Regions from separate parts of the Homo sapiens genome. Here region 1 is linked to region 2. The links are contacts of gene promoters, found by promoter capture Hi-C in human tissues and cell types (Jung and others, 2019). All regions are on one chromosome and are shown on one strand. Each heading gives the region's core, a stretch centred on a gene start or on the middle of the fragment in contact. The rest is flanking DNA. Distances are from core to core; before and after follow the strand shown.

Evidence for each region. The method cuts DNA at HindIII sites, captures the fragments that hold promoters and counts their contacts. A contact is called where the count stands out against the background at its distance.
Region 1: a fragment that was not itself captured here is called in contact with the fragment with the promoter of RIPPLY3 in region 2 in 4 of the 25 tissues and cell types used here (H1 embryonic stem cells, IMR-90 fibroblasts, mesendoderm cells and 1 more).

Annotation. Positions count from the first base shown.
Region 1 is chr21:37,103,909-37,106,608 of GRCh38, forward strand. All of the region lies in intron 10 of TTC3 (tetratricopeptide repeat domain 3), which reads left to right. Among named protein-coding and RNA genes, the nearest start is that of TTC3, 32 kb to the left of the region's middle. The HindIII fragment of the contact is 5,828 bases long and covers 1-2,700 here.
Region 2 is chr21:37,005,378-37,008,077 of GRCh38, forward strand. It overlaps RIPPLY3 (ripply transcriptional repressor 3), which reads left to right and starts at 1,325. Exons shown (of 4, transcript NM_018962.3): 1 at 1,325-1,499. The coding sequence starts at 1,396. RefSeq lists an enhancer at 666-1,166 and a silencer at 1,390-1,499. The HindIII fragment of the contact is 12,344 bases long and covers 1-2,700 here.

The DNA of each region.
Region 1 (2,700 bases), core at 4-2,503, 98 kb after region 2:
GTAAAGGATTTTAAACTGAGGAGAGAGAGCATGATTAGCACTTAAAAAAAAAATTTGAGCATAGTGAAAATGGATCTGAAGGGGATGTAGTGTGGATGTAGGTTAGGAGGCTGTTGCAGTAGCCCAGGCCAGAGATGATGGCTTCCAGCAGAATATTGACAGTGGGAATGGAAAAGTAGAAGGATTCAAGAGTTTAGAGGTGAAGCTGACAGAAGTTGCTCGTGGTTGGTGTTGGAACTTGAGAGTGAAGGTGGTTGGAACTGTTCTGACGTTTCTGCCTTAAGCAGCATCATGGATTATGGGCCTACTCACTCACATTGGGATTGCTGGAAGAGGAATAAATTTGTAGGAGGTAGAACTGGACTTCACTCTCGGACACTGAATCGAAGTGCCTTTGAAGGCCAGGCATGGTGACTCACGCCTGTAATCCCAGCACTTTGGGAGGCCGAGGTGGGAGGATCACCAGAGGTCAGGAGTTCGAGACCAGCCTGGCCAACATGGTGAAACCCTTTCTCTACTACAACTACAAAAATTAGCTGGGCGTGGTGGTAGGTGCTTCTAATCTCAGTTACTCGGGAGGCTGAGGCAGGAGAATTGCTTGAACGTGGGAGGCGGAGGTTGCAGTGAGCCAAAGTAGCGCCATTGCGCTCCAGCCTCGGCGACGAGCAAAACTCCGTCTCAAAAAAAAAAAAAAAAAAAAAGAAAGAAGTGCCTTTGAAGCATCCAAATTCCAATGTTGTGTAGGTAGTGAGTTATATGGGTCTGGAACTCAAAGGAGGGTTTGGATGGGAAACATGTTTGGAATAGCCAGCCTCCATGATTTGAAGTTGTAGATGTGGGTGAGACTGCTTACAGAGAAGTTTTTCTCAACCTGGACTGCACTTTGGAATCACTGAACTTTGACAAATACCACCCACCCCAGAGATTCTGATTCAATTAACCTAGAGTAAAGCTTGGGCATTGGGCTTCTAGGAACTCCCCAGATGGTACTAATGTGCAGTCACGGTTGAGACCCACTGGCCTAGAGAGAACCTAGGCTGAGACTAGGAGAGGAATCAGGATTGAGCCTTGAACACATATGGCCAATTGGAGAAGGATGAGCCTGCCCAGGAGATTATTAAGATGTGACCAGAGAGGTGGAACAAAGACTAAGTGTGGTGTCATAGAAGTAAGTAAAAGAGTGGTCAGCAGTGTCTGTTGGCTACTGAGAAGCCAGTTACAGTGGAACTTAGATTTGGCAACATGGACATCATTCACTAACCTTAGGGGGAGCTGTCAGTGGGAAGCTTGAAACATGCCAATTAGATGGGGTTGAGAAATGCAAGGAAATGGAGACAGCTAGCGTAGGCAGCTTTTAAAGGTGTTTGGGGAGAGAGACCCAGGGTGAGTCTCTTTAAATGGTAAAGAAAACTTACCTTATTCAAGAGTTCCAGAAGAAGGTGGCACTAGGGTTGTATATTCAGTGGCTCAACAATGTCATCAGAGACTTAGATTTTTCCAGCCTCAGTGTGTGACTTGGTCCTCAGGCTGTCCCCTCAGAATGTAGGATGGCTGCTGTAATTCAGACATCTTTAGCAGAAGAAGGACAACTTTGTCTTATGTCCTTTAAAAAAAATCTTAATACACATGCTGAAAAGTATACAAGTGTTAAGTGCAGCTGGAATTTTCAGAAGTCAAACAACTGTAACCAGCATGCAGATCACAACCCCAGTACCCCAGAAGTTCCTCTTAGTCATGACCCTCCTCCTAGTCATGATCCATCTCCTCCCCCAGGAGAACTACCATCCTGGCTTCCAGTGGTTAATTTTGCCTATTTTAGTACAATGTAATGAAATAATATACTATGTGTTCTTTTATGTTTGGTTTTCAGCATCGTTTTTGAGATCCATATTGTTGCATGTAGTTGTAAAGTGTTCATCTATTGCATGAATATACCACATTTTATCCATTCTATTGTTGATGGGCATTTGGGTAGCTTCTCCTATTTGGCTTTTACAGGTAGTATTGTTGTGAACATATGTATTTATTTCTGTTGAGTGTATAATTAAGGAGTGGAATTGTTGGGACAGAGGGTATGCTTATATGCATTTAGCTTTCCTGTGTGATTGTATCATTTTGTACTCTTACAGCAGCATATGAGAATTTCAGTTCTGTGCCCTCAACACTTACTATTTTTCATCTTTTATTTTAGACATTCTGGTGGGTGTGTAGTGGTATACCGCTGTGATTATAATTTGTATTTTCATAAATTGATTAAGGATGTTTCAGATTTTCATAAGGTTATTGACCATTTGGATATTCTCTTTTGTGAAGTGCCTGTTGAAGTCTTTTGCTATTTTTTTCTCTTGAGTAGAATGCCCTATTCATTTTTAGGAGTTTTTCTTTTGTATTCTGAATATGAGTCATTGGTCAGATATATGTATTGCAAATATCTTCTCACATTCAGTGGCTTGCCTTTTCACTGTTGATGTTTTCACAAACAAGTTACTAATTTTAATGTAGTACAGTTTATCAGTTTTTTCCTCTGTGATAAGCTCTTTTTGTGTTCTGTTTATCATCTTTACCCATTCAAAGGTCACCAGATTTTCTATGTTTCATCTAAAGGTTTAATTGTTCAACTTTGATGTACAGATCTGCAGTCCATCTGGACCTGGTGTTTGTATTTAGTGTGAGGTAGTGTTCAAGATTCATATGGGCCAG
Region 2 (2,700 bases), core at 75-2,574:
GATTACAGGAGCCTGCCACCACGCCCGGCTAATTTTTTTATTTTTAGTAGAGACGGGTTTCACCATATTGGCCAGACTGATCTCGAACTCCTGACTTCAAGTGATCCATCCACCTGCCTCGGTCTCCCAAAGTGCTGGGATTACAGGTGAGAACCACCGCGCCTGGCCTAGTTCTTCGATTTTTTAACATCCATCACAGTAACTTAAATTATATAAAGTAACTACCCCTGAGGAGCCCGGGGTAGTTGAAGGCCCTCCAGCGCCTTCGGTGTTCTGTCGCAGTGCTCTACGTGTGAAACCGCTTTCTCCCACCCTGGCCGTGCGCTGGTGATGGTGGCAGCGGCGCTCCAGCGACGCCCGGGGAAGTGTCCCCAGGGTCGGGCAAGGTCGCTTCTGCTGGTCGGGAGGCCCTTTCTAAGCCTGGCTGGGGCTAACCGAAGGAGAAGCCCGCCGCTCCAGGCTTTATTAAAAATTCGCATTCTTTCCAAGGCCGCCATCGGTGGGAAGGGTGCGCTCGTAGCACCCCTCTTGCTCGGTTCCATTCCTGGCCTTCTGTCTCCTGGAAGGGTCGCCGCGCCCCACCCCACCCGCTTCGCCACGGGTTCGAGCCCTGGCGTCGGGGCGTCCGGGAGCCCACTGTCCAGCACCGAAGGCAAGGCCGGTGCACGCGGACCCGAGGATTCGGTAGATGTCCCCGAAGACCCGCTGCCGCTCTAAGGCGGTGGAAGCGAGATTCTCCGGAAACCCAGGGAATCCGATGCTCGCACAGGACCAAAGCCCGAGGCCGCGGGGACCACAGAGGGACGGAGAAGCCGGGACTCCTCACATCCCACATCCGGCAGGGGAAGCCCAGCAGGTGAGCGCAGGTCCCCCCAGTCCCCGAGGGAGTGCGCCCGACGGAAACGCCCCTAGCCCGCGGGCCTCGCTTTCCTCTCCCGGGTTCCTGGGTCACTTCCCGCTGTCTCCAGCCCGAGCTCGTGGCCCCAATCCCTGGTACCTCCATCCTCTGGTCACCCCTTCTCTGGTGCCCCCTCCCCGACTTTTCTTTGTCCCGTCCCCACCCTTGCCCGGGCCTGCCGGACCCCCCTCCTTGACACCCGGCGCCACCTCCTTGAGCTTTTCTCGTCTCCTCCCCATCCCCGGCTCCCTGGTCCCCTCCCGGAACTTCTCTGGTCCCCTCCGCTCCTCCGACCCGGGCTTTTCCTTCGTACCCTGCGGCCCCCTCCGCACCCCTCACGGAGCTCCTCGGGTCCTGCCCCCTCCCAGCGCTTGCCCGCGCCGCCCCGCCCCCGTTTTTAAACCTGGCGCGCGGGTAGGTGAGCGCGTTAGCCCGAGTGGATCTAGGCGCGCTCGTAGGCCGGCGCCGCAGCAAGGGGCGCGGGCTCCGCCGGCACCATGGAGCCCGAAGCGGCGGCCGGAGCCCGGAAGGCGCGGGGGCGCGGCTGTCACTGCCCCGGGGACGCTCCCTGGAGGCCTCCGCCACCGCGCGGGCCGGAGAGGTGAGGGTGGCCCCGCGCCCCGGTGGACGCGCTGAGAGGCGTGCGCGGTGGCGGTGCGGGGAGCGCAGCGAGCGGGAGGCTGGGGCGCTGCTGAACCCCCGATCCCCAGCGGAGCTCCGGAGCTCGACGGCGACGCCAAGCAAGCTCCTGAGCCGGCAGCCGGGTTCCCGGGAGGGGCGCTCAGTTCTCCGGTTCCAACGCACAGCTCTGAAGTGCGGAGGCCCAGGATGTAGCTGGCCAGGAAAGGGGCCGACGCTTCCGTGTAGAGGAGATCTCAGTTAGCCAGCCGGGGACACTGCAGTCTCGGGCTCCTAAGCCAGCCTTGCAAAGGCAATCTCTCACCTTGCTACTTTCTCGGTAGCCGTTTCTGTTGTCCCTGGATTGGGGGCTCGGCGTTCGCTGTCCCTGGGCACCAACCCTTTTAAAGACAGTAACGTTGTAGGAAATCAAATTAGCCAGGGAGGTAGGGAAGGGACCGGGTAGGCCGGATGGGCCAGGTAGCCAGGCAGGAGAAAGATTCCCTCTTTTTTTTTTTTTTTTTTTTTTTTTTGAGACAGGGTCTCACTGTGTCGCCCAGGCTGGAGTGCAATGGCGTGATCTCGGCTCACGGGAACCTCCGCCTCCCGGGTTCAAGCGATTTTCCTGCCTCAGCCTCCTGAGTAGCAGGGATTACACGCGCCTGCCACCACGCCCGGCTAATTTTTGTATTTTTAGTAGAGACTGGGTTTCGCCATGTTGGCCAGGCTGGTCTCGAACTCCTGACCTCGAGTGATCCAGTAACCTCAGCCTCCCAAAGTGCTGGGATTACAGGTGTGAGCCACCGCGCCCAGCCCCCTTTTTTTGTTTGTTTGTTTTTCATCCTACAACTCTGTAAAATCATCTCTGTAGAATCAATCTCCTTCCGTGACCAAGGTGGTGTGATTGAAATTAACCGGGGACAAAGTAGACAGCTATAGTTGGGGAACCCCGAATTGAACAATTCAGCCAGGATTTGCAGGGAGAGAAATCTCTCAACTAATGGGTTCCCTGATAATTGTGTGAGATTCGGGACCTCCCTTCTCAAAGCTTAACTGGAGACAGAGAACTGGGGACGTAGCAGGAGAGAAAAAACACAAATGACAGTAATTTATCCACAGCCCTGAGAACTCCAGGGAAAGTTCCTGGGGGGTCCGGTGCCTCTTTTTCAGGCAGACACTGGAAC